2 separate regions of the Homo sapiens genome follow, and region 1 is linked to region 2. The links are contacts of gene promoters, found by promoter capture Hi-C in human tissues and cell types (Jung and others, 2019). All regions are on one chromosome and are shown on one strand. The core of a region is centred on a gene start or on the middle of the fragment in contact, and the rest is flanking DNA. Distances in the headings are between cores, read along the strand shown.

What was found. Contacts are between HindIII fragments. The study calls those that stand out against the background at their distance.
Region 1: a contact is called between a fragment that was not itself captured here and the fragment with the promoter of SPI1 in region 2, in 1 of the 25 tissues and cell types used here (spleen).

What each region holds. Positions count from the first base shown.
Region 1 is chr11:47,232,465-47,238,111 of GRCh38, reverse strand. It overlaps DDB2 (damage specific DNA binding protein 2), which reads right to left. Exons shown (of 10, transcript NM_000107.3): 4 at 5,153-5,298; 5 at 3,440-3,539; 6 at 3,178-3,355; 7 at 2,700-2,842; 8 at 111-275. Among named protein-coding and RNA genes, the nearest start is that of ACP2, 14 kb to the left of the region's middle. The HindIII fragment of the contact is 6,251 bases long and covers 164-5,647 here.
Region 2 is chr11:47,375,745-47,380,730 of GRCh38, reverse strand. SPI1 (Spi-1 proto-oncogene) reads left to right here and starts at 2,184. Exons shown (of 5, transcript NM_003120.3): 1 at 2,184-2,422. The coding sequence starts at 2,378. RefSeq lists enhancers at 2,021-2,090, 1,586-2,537, 2,711-2,760, 3,431-3,630. The HindIII fragment of the contact is 21,953 bases long and covers 1-4,986 here.

The DNA.
Region 1 (5,647 bases), core at 2,040-4,539, 140 kb after region 2:
GGAGAGGGTGAAGGTATTAGCAGAGACACCTGATTTCTGGTCACTTTTGGTCAATAAGGTAGGTTGAATCCCTGCTTCCTCCCATCATTATTTGAGGACCCAAGCCTCACCGAACTGATGCCAGAAGATTCTGGGTCATAGAGCTGACACATCATCTTCCCTGAGTTTCCATCGAACACGTCGATCGTCCTCAATTCATAAGGGGTACAACTTTTGAAATTAGGATCTGGGTATCGGCCCACAACAATGAGGTTGTAGCGAGGATGCCAGGCTGCCTAGGAGATGGAGAGGCCGGCCATGAGGGTAAACACAGAACATGATCAAGGGGGACATCAAAAACAAATATGAACAAAGAGGAACATCAAAAGTATTCTTTGGGCTGAGTGCAGTGGCTCACACCTGTAATCTCAACACTTTGGGAGGCTGAGGCAGGCGGATCACGAGGTCAGGAGATCGAGACCATCCTGGCTAACATGGTGAAACCCCGTCCCTACTAAAAATACCAAAAAAAAAATTAGCTGGGCGTGGTGGTACATGCCTGTAGTCCCAGCTACTTGGGAGGCTGAGGCAGGGGAATCACTTGAACCCGGGAGGCGGAGGTTGCAGTGAGTGAAGATCATGTCACTGCACTCCAGCCTAGGTGACAGAGCAAGACTCTCAAAAAAAAAAAAAAAAAAGTAGTATTTGCCAGTAACAAGCCAACCTAATAATGGAGATAAGTCTTACAGAAAACTACAAGAATGGTTTTAGGTTGTGTGTGCCTCTGCCATTGCACATTTTTAATCCCTAGCTGGCCTCCCTGGCCCTTAGGGCACCTTCAGGCCTTCTCCCTCATTTGCATTTCCTAAGATCATACCAACTGGTAAACGTTTTAACATCAGCCTGACCCAGATACTGACCTAAGAGGCCTACAACAAAGCAGAAAAAGCCTCTGGTGACCAAACCCTAACAGGACTTGAGTTCTGGAGGAGCCCCACTGTCATCCTGTCTCCATCAACACGAATAACTAAGAGCTGAGTGTAAAATTGCTAATGGCTAAAAAAGAGAAGGAAACCCACATTCCCCAGATCACCCCACTAAAAACAAATCTGGCAGTTATTAAAATGGCAGAATTGGATGGGATTTTCCTAAACTTCTCAAGGAAGTTTTGAAGGAAGAAAGACATGGTTAGCAGGAAGGAAGAAATAGTACATGCGAAGGCTTAGAAATAAGTCACAAATCACACACAGGAAGCTGTAATGACTTACGACACCTGGCTAGATACAAACTGGGACATGCAGACAGATGGATTATCGGGAACACTGATGGATTAACAGGAACACCAACTGGGGAAGGATTCTTGACATTATTTATTAAGAGCTTGGATGTGATTGAGGTACGTGGGGGCCACTCAATATTCAATCATCATTTATTGAATACTTACCAGTACTTACCAGGTGCTGGGCATGGGGCCAAGTGCTTTAAGTATACTGACTCATCTTCACAACAACCCTATCAGTTAGAGACTAGTATTCCCTTTTTGCAGATGAGGAAACAGATCCAAAATATAAGTAATTTGCCCAAGGATTCTAACCCGGGGGGTCTGGCTGCTGGAAACTGGCGCTCCCCACCACTATTCTGAACTGACCAGAGAAGTATAGGCATAAAACCTGAAGATCTGAAGAGGATCTGTAGTTTTGGAAAAGAATGCAGAACTAGCAGAGCTCAGTCTGCATGGGGGCTTAGGCAAAAAGGCATCAAAGGACTTGAAAGCTATTAGTGTTGGGGACTAATGATAGAGAAGCTATTAACAAGAGCCTGAGAAAAGGTGGGAAAATAAAAGACTTATTTTTATTATTAGAAGCACTGAAACCTGCAAGACAAACTAAGAAGGCAAAGTTGCCAGGCGCAGTGGCTCATGCCTGTAATCCTAGCACTTTGGGAGGCCAAGGTTGGGGGATGGCTTCAACCTAGGAGTTCAAGACCAGCTTGGGCAACATGGCAAAACCCCATCTCTATAAAAAATAAAAAAATTAGCTGGGTATGGTGGCGCATACCTGTAGTCCAATCTACTTCCGAGGCTAAGGCGGAAGGATTGCTTGAACCCAGGAGGTTGAGGCTGCAGTGAGCTATGTTTGTGCCACTGCACTCCAGCCTGGGTGACAGAGCAAGACCGTTTCAAGAAAAAAAAAAAAAAAAAAAAAAAGGATCAGCCTGGGTAACACAAGAATACCCTGTCTCTACAAAAAAAAAAAAAGTGAGGCAGGAGGATCGCTTGAGCCTGGGAGATCAAGGCTGTAATGAACCATGCTTGCCCCACTGTACTCCCACCTGGGTGACAGAGCGAGACCCTGCCTTAAAAAAAATAATAAAAAAATAAAAAATGAAGGTTTGTGGGTCAACTGTACACAGGTAACTGAAGCTGAGAAGACAGAACAGAGGGTCAGGATCTTAGAAAATTCTCACAGTGAGATCAGAGCTGGGCTGAAAAAACTCAGAAAAATATCTTATCAGCGAGACAGAAAACTCAACCATATGGGATGGCAGAAGTGGGATAAAAGGAAGAGAGAGAGCCAATGGGTAAGAGATGCTCTGTGCTCGGGCCAGGAGCGATCTGGGGTGGCAGGCTTACCACATCAGCCCTTCCCCACTGTGGGCAGACCTGCTCCGGCCTCATGATCACAGCCTCCTTCTGCGAGCTCCTTCCCACCGCCACTCACCTTGATGGGTGTGAGGTGCTGGAAGTGACGGTGAGGGTGCGGGATCAGGCCCAGGGGGCAGTCCCACTGGGAAGCAGAGTAAACTCGGATCTCGCTCTTCTGGTCCGTGGTCAGGAGCCGGGCTCCATCGGGACTGAAACAAGCTGGCAAAGTGAAAAGCCCCTGAGCTGAAGGAACCACAAGCCCTCTGTGGTCCTGGCCTTGCAGGCCTTCTCCTGCAGGGGTACTCTCCCTCCCACTCCTCTCTAGACAGGAGCGGAAAGGAAGAGGTGAATCTGGGCTGTGAACAACAACAAAAAAATTCTGGAAACTCAGCAGCTGATGGGGACAGCCACAGCCACAAAGGTTCCCAGACATCAGCTTGGCAGACGCTATCAGGGGTAAAGGTTTGACGTAGTGGCTTCCACACTGAGGGAAAACCCCAGCAGTGGTCAGACAGGCAGGGTCTGCAGGAGAGATGAGGTCTGGGATATCACACCTGCGTTGACAGGATGCCTGTGCGGCAGCGAGTAGAGGAAGCTGGCTTTCCCTCTAACCTGGCGCAGGTCCCAAATTTTCACTGTTTGATCTACGGAGGCTGTGGCCAGGAACCAATCACAGCATGGGTTCAGGGCCACATGCGTCACTTTCTTTTTGTGCATTCTGAGATTCCAAAGCTGCAGAGAAGAGCTCGGTTCAGGTGGGGACACAGAACCGAGGTGGGGGTGAGGGAGGGAAAGGCAGGACCTCGGAGAACGCACCTCTTTGCCGTCCATGTTCAGCAGGATCACGTTCCCCACGTTGTCTCCTGTGACCACCATTCGGCTACTAGCAGACACATCCAGGCTACAAAACCAGATGCTGGAGGGAGAGACTGTGTTGTAAGATTCTTGGGGACAGAGATAGTCCTATTTACTCACTGTTGCCGCTCCGGTGACTAACCCACAGCGGGCATTCAATAAATATTTGTTGAATGAATGAATAACTGTCTTGCCGTGGATTCCTAGTGAGGAACATTCAGACTGCTCTACCGTCCAGACAGAGGGGATGGGATAATGGGGCTCAGAAATCTGTCTGGTTATGGCTGGGCCCAGGATCCCCAGCTCCTAAAAGTCCCTGAAGCAGACAAAGCTTATACCATAAAGCAAGCCCTGAGGCACGCCTGCCCCCCACACCCCGGGTTCTGAGCAAGCCTCCTTTACTGCTCTCTCCTTTCACTCTTCACCCTTTAGGCCAAAGGAGACACAAGCCAAAGAGGGATTGCCTGGCCCTGTTCCTCAGAGCTGGCTAGAAAAGCACTTCTGCCCCCTTCTGAACACTGGGGGAAAAAACACAACCAGGAGCTCTTCTGGTCCCTCAAACCACTGGACTGGGAGGCTGACTAGGAGGGTGCTTCAGGGATCCTGCTATTCAGCCAGAAGAGCTCAGCTCACAGTTTTTCTCTCAAACTCTCAAATCCATGCTACACTGCCTTTTGCCATCCCCTATGAATATCTTCAAGCAGGAAGATTTCTTGCGGAAGAGTAGCCTGGAGCCTTGTCTATCCAATTGCCTGCTGATTTGCGTGCGCATGCACTCCTCATCCCTGCGGGACAGCCCAGGATCCAATCCAATGCTAGTTACACCCCAGCACCCTCACTTAATTCCTCAGGGAGCAGTCAGAGTCACGGCTCTAGCTGGAAATCAAAGTGACGAGTATTCTGTAATTTTTTTTTTTTTTTTTTGAGATAGATTTTCGCTCTTGTTGCCCAGGATGGAGTGCAATGGCGCCATCTCGGCTCACTGCAACCTCTGCCTCCTGGGTTCAAGCGATTCTCTTGCTTCAGCCTCCCAAGTAGCTGGGAATTACAGGGGCCTACCACCACGCCCAGCTAATTTTTTGTATTGTTAGTAGAGATGGGGGTTTCACCATGTTGGCCAGGCTGGTCTCGAACTCCTGACCTCAGGTGATCCACCCACCTTGGCCTCCCAAAGTGCTGGGATTTCAAGCATGAGCCACTGCACCCGGCCGCATTCTGTAATTTCTCCAGCCACTTTCTCTTGGGAAGTCCAGAGCACTTTATGGAAAAGATTCCATCCATATAAGCTTCCACCCAGGAACAGGTCAGGTCATTACACCACAGTGAGTGCAGGGCATTCAGTCTCAAGTTCTGAGCTGTTGCTCCATTCTCTAGGTGGCTTTCTGGGTCCACGCCATGCTGGCTTATCTAGTGAGGGTCAAGGTCCAGTCTAATACAGGTATGACTTACAGAAGAGCTGAGGCTCCAGAACACCTTCCCAAAGCAGTAACCCACCTGGACCAAAGTGAGGGCAGCCAAGGAGCAGTTTGAGAAAGAGAAAGAAGGGCGGAAAGTGGCTGACATCTTTCCTTTCTTCCCTGGGCCAGGTTGGGTTAAGGAAATGGGATCTGGATGCTCTTGCCGGAACTACACCTAAGCTTAGAAGCCCTTTCCCCTGCTAGTTAAACTACTCACTTGATGGTGTCTGAGCTGGCAAAAACTCGTAGAATGTTGCCTTTAAAGTCTTGCAGCCTAGTTGTTCCCTCCATTGAGGAGGCGTAAAACTGGTTGGTATTGAGAGGGTTAAACTTCAGCCCAGTGATGCTCCCTCCAGCTCCAATCTAACACGAGGAAGGAAAAAGCCAGTGAGTGATGATGGGCCTGGCCGTGAGGAACCAGGCCTGGGCACACATGCTGCGCCGTCACAGAAGCACCCCTCGAGCAGCGCTTGGGGCCAGGTCAGCTTAGACACTAGGACGCTCTCTACAGGGCCTTCACTTCTTTTTCTTTTCCTTTGAAATAGGGTCTTTCTCTGTCACTTAGGCTGAAGTGCAGTGGCACAAACACGGCTCACTGCAGCCTCAATCTCCTGGGCTCAAGCGATCCTCCCACCTCAGCCTCCCAAGTGCGTGCCACCATGCCCAGCTAATTTTTCTATTTTTTTTTTTTAAGATGGGGTTTTGTCACGTT
Region 2 (4,986 bases), core at 935-3,434:
TAGGAATCCACTGGCAAGAAGGCAGGCCTGTCTTAGTGGAGTGGGAATTTAAAGCAAGGGGTTAGATTATACAGGGGAGGACACTGAATGTTCAAAATTCCTTCCCAGCAGAGGGGACTCACCAGAGATCACTGGGCCAGAAAAACAACAACAACAACAACAACAACAAAACAAAAATGCCTCTACTCATCCCTCCACCCCCCAGAAAAGATCAGGAACTCTCTGAAGGCAGGGGTCTTGTATAATACTTTTTTGTTTTCCCAGCGCTCAGCTTAGAGCCTGGAACTCAACATTGGGAAGATGCATGGATGGACAGATAAGTGGATAGACAGATAGATGAATGAGTGGATGGATGGATAGATGGATGGGTAGATGAGTGGATTGGTGGATGGGTGGATTAGTGAATCGGTAGATGTGTGGATGAGTGGATGGATGGATGGATGAATGGATGGATGGATAGATAAGTGGATGAGTGGATTGGTGGATGGATGAATGGATGGATGGATAGATAAGTGGATGGGTGGATTTGTGGATGGCTGGATGAATGAGTGGATGGATGGATAGGTGGATGAGTGGATGGATGAATGGGTAGATAGCTGGATTGGTGGACAGGTGGATGAGTAAATGGGTAGATGGGTAGATGGGTGGATAGGTGGATGAATGGATGGATGGATGAATGGATGGCTGGATGGATGAGTGATACCAAAAAGATACTGCATTTGTATGTTTATCACAGCACTATTCATAATAGCAAAGATACAGAATCAACATAAGTGTCCATCAACGGGTGAGTGAATAAATAACATGTTATATTGTATTTATATATATATATAATGAAATACTATTCAGCCATAAAAAAGAATGAAATTATGTCTTTGCAGCAACATGGATGGAATTGGAGGACATTATCATATGCGAAACAACGCAGAAACAGAAAGTCAAATACTGCCTGTTCTCATGGGGCTCCTGGAAACCGAAGCTGATAGGTGAATGGATGGATAGGTGGATGAATAGATGGGTGGAATGGTAGGTGGGTGGATTGGTAGATGGGTGGATGAGTGGACTGGTGGATGGATGGATGAATGAATGAAGGGGTAGGTGGATGATGGATGGGTTGATGGACAGATGAGTGGATGGGTAGATGGGTGGATGAGTGGATGGGTGGATGGATGGACAGGTGGATGAATGGATGAGCAGATTCATAGATGGATAAACAGATGGAATTGTGGACTGATGGACTGATAGCAGGTGGACGGGCTGATTAATGGACATATAGATGGTTAGATAGACAAGTAGATAAACAGATGGGTGGGTGGATGAATTGACTGACAGATGAATGAACAAACAAACGGACAGTTGGATAAATGGACACATAAGTGAATGCATGGTGGGCTTGATGAATGGATAGCTGGATGGACAAATAGACAGACAAATAGATGCATGGGAAAACAGATGAATGGTGGATAGGCAAGAAAGGTTTGTAAACCAGGAGGGTTAGATTGATATTCAGGCATTGCCAAGGGATGGGGAAACTGAGAAACCTGGGCTGGAAACAGAGCCCTAGGGATTTGAATGTGGTAATCAAGAAGCTGGGAGGGGAGGGTATAAGAACCCAGGACCCTCTTCTGGTGGTAGGGAAGCCCATGTGAACAGATTCAGAGGGAAGGAAGAAAGCAGCACTATGCTGAAGACCCTACACCTGAGCCCAGCCTCAGCCTAGGGATAGCCTAGGCAGTGGGGGTGCAGGGCCACAGGAAGAGCCAGGCCTGATAGCCTGCTAGATCAGAGCCCTCACCCAGGAAGGCTGACTCCAGAAAGTGGAGGCCCCAAGAGGCCACCCCTTCCAGCTCTGACCCCAATGAGGTGACTGTTGGCTACATAGGGATCTCAAAAGAAGCAGGCATTTGTTGGGTTAGAGCAAAAGCCTCCCAGTGGTGTGGCAGAGCTACACGTTCTCCCTCCCATCCTCCCTCCCCAGCTTAGCCCCCAAAGTCATCCCTCTCAGTCCCAGCTTCCTCTGGGCAGGGGGCCTGGACCCCATGGCTTCCCAGGCCAGCCCTTTGAGCACCACCTGCCCCAGCCGGCCAGAGACTTCCTGTATGTAGCGCAAGAGATTTATGCAAACGGGTTGGGGCGGTGATGTCACCCCAAGGGGACTATCTCCCAGCGGCAGGCCCTTCGATAAAATCAGGAACTTGTGCTGGCCCTGCAATGTCAAGGGAGGGGGCTCACCCAGGGCTCCTGTAGCTCAGGGGGCAGGCCTGAGCCCTGCACCCGCCCCACGACCGTCCAGCCCCTGACGGGGCACCCCATCCTGAGGGGCTCTGCATTGGCCCCCACCGAGGCAGGGGATCTGACCGACTCGGAGCCCGGCTGGATGTTACAGGCGTGCAAAATGGAAGGGTTTCCCCTCGTCCCCCCTGTGAGTACCGGGACTCCTCCACCAGCCCAACCCGTGGCCCTCGGACGCCTGCCTGCCTGCCCACGAACCCGCCAGCCCACCCACTGCCCTCCTGGCTTGCTATCAGTGGGAAGTCAGGGTTTCCTCCCTGGAACTCCTGGCCTGAGACCCAGCGAGGGGGCCATTGGCTTCCTCGGAGCATGCCCTGGCGGGCTGAGGCCAGGCCCACGGTGGGGCTGTGATCGGTGGGGCCTGAACAGTTATTTATAGACAGGGCTCGGGTGGCAGGCGGAGGCCGGGGCTCCTGGGGAGGGTGCTGGGCTGAGGATGGTGAAGGCGGTGGTAGAGAGGTAGAGGAGGGAGATGGGGGGACTGGCTTGGGGGAGGCCGGTCCCCTGGATGGGAAGGGGTTGAAGGCAGGAGGCAATGGGCAGAAGTCTTGGCCCATGGCCTTGGGGCTCCTGGAAACCAAAGCTGATGGAACTCTGGGTCCCCAACGCCCAGTCTGGGGCCTGGCACAGAGGACATGATTGTTGACCAAAGGGTCAGGGCCATGGGCCCACAGGGGTACCCACAGGAGACAGGGACTGGTGCTGGAAAGGAGCCAGGAGTGGAGCTGAGACAGTGCAGTTAGGGCTGGCCCCAGGGCTGGAGTTCAGGGAGAGGCGCGGCAGGGGACAGGGCTGGGACAAGGCCAGGACTGAGATTGGGGCTGGGTGGGACCTGGGGTGAGCATGTGATAAGTGAGAATGGGGGCTGAGGCTGGGACAAGGACAGGGACTGGGTCTTGGGGGTGAAGAAGTGGGAGCCCCAGGGGACCCCGAGAAGAGAAGGGCAGATCGCCACTGCTCCTCACTCTCAGTGACAGTTGCAGCCTTAGGCAGGTGTCAGACCAGGGTCCCTCGGAAAGGACCCTTCTCCCTTTTCCCACCCCATGACCTCTCAGGAGTGAGGAGGCTTGAGGGGAGCCGGGAAGGGCTTGGCAGGCTGCCCACCTGAATCCACTTTCCTGGTCTAGAGGCAGCTCCCTTCCCCCACTATGCCCTGGCTCAGAGCCACCCCAGGAGGCTGGGAGGCACCCCAGGCCTGACATCACACCAACCCGACCAGAGCCGGGCTGACATCCTGCAGCGAGGCTGTACTACCTGGAAACCCAGAGGGGCAGGCTCAGTGCTGGGCTCCTGGCCTCCTCACTTGGCCAGCCACAGGCAGGACCAGGCAGGACCAGCCAGCCTGCTGTGGCATCCACACCGACACCCCTTCCCACCTGGGAACACGAAGTGGGCGGCCCAGGCAGAGGGTGACGGAGGTTGTCTCAGAAAGAGCCAATTCTGCCTCAAGAAAGCCACAGGCCCACTGTCTCTGATCCCTGACCTCTCAATTCTGAACTCCAGGTGGAGCTAGATGGGTGGCAGAGCTCCTTGGGCCATCCCTAGGCACCCCCAGCCCTCTCTGCAAGCTCCAGGGTCACTCTGAGTGTCTCCTGGTAGGGTGGGCTCCCAAGGCAGCCCCGGTCCCCCAAGCCCAGCCCTAAGGGCCACAGTGACTGTTATGCAATCCTGGGCCACACGCTGCGGGGGCGGGGAGGCCTGATGACTGTTGGGAAGGCTCCTGGGTGTGCACGGCCCTGTGTCTGTGCCAGTAGGGGGAGGAGGACAGGGAGGAGGGAGGAAGGTGGGAGGAAAGAAGGAGGACAGGGAAGAGGGGGAAGAAAAGGAGGACAGAGGGGAGTGAGGAGGGGGAGGAGGAAGCAAAGGAGACGGGGAGGGGGATGCAGTGAGGAGGGAAGGAGGAGGATAGGGAGGACTCAGGAGGGAGAGTGAGGGGATCAAGGCCCTCCATGCGCTCGGCCCCTAAGTCTGCCTGGGTGACCCCTGCACCAACCGTCAGTGTGGAGGGTCATTGTGGTGCCACTCTTGCCCAGGCTGTGTGAGAGGCATAGGCTGTGAGAGTGGGGCTGGGCAGGCAAGTGTGTGCTGTGCGGTTGAGTGTGCAGGTGGAATGTGAGTGGCTCTGGGGGTGTGAGTGTGTGTGTTGATGGCTGGAACGTGGTGTCATGTGAGTGTCAATCAAGGAGACTCTGCGTGTGTGCATGAGCTGAGTGTACAATGTCTCTGTGAGGTGGGTGACCTCTGAGTGGGTATGAAGATGTGTGTGTGAGGGATAGTGTGCAGGCGCCTGCATGGGGGTGGGTAGGGGCTGTGAGAGTGAGTCCTCGTGTGGGATTATGAGTGTGAGGGTGACACAGGGATCGTGTGGACATGTGCATCAGTGTGACCAGGAGAGGTGTGTGGGATGAGGATGGGGGCACACAGGCGTGAGTGTGAGTGTGAGCGTGAGGTGGCTATGGGGAGTAGCCCAGCAGAGGGGGACCCTGGTCCTCTTCTGACCTCTCACCCCCAAGGTCCCTGTCACCCCTTTTCAGGCCTTCTGGGTCCCCTGCCCCACTCTCTGTCCCAGTTCCAGGCAGAGGGAGGGCTGTAGGTCCAACGCAGCCACTGAGCCAGGGAAGGTGATGGGGACCCAGCGTGCGGGGGTGCTGCAGGCCTGGCTGGGGTCTCCCACCATGGTGCAGGCCCTGACAC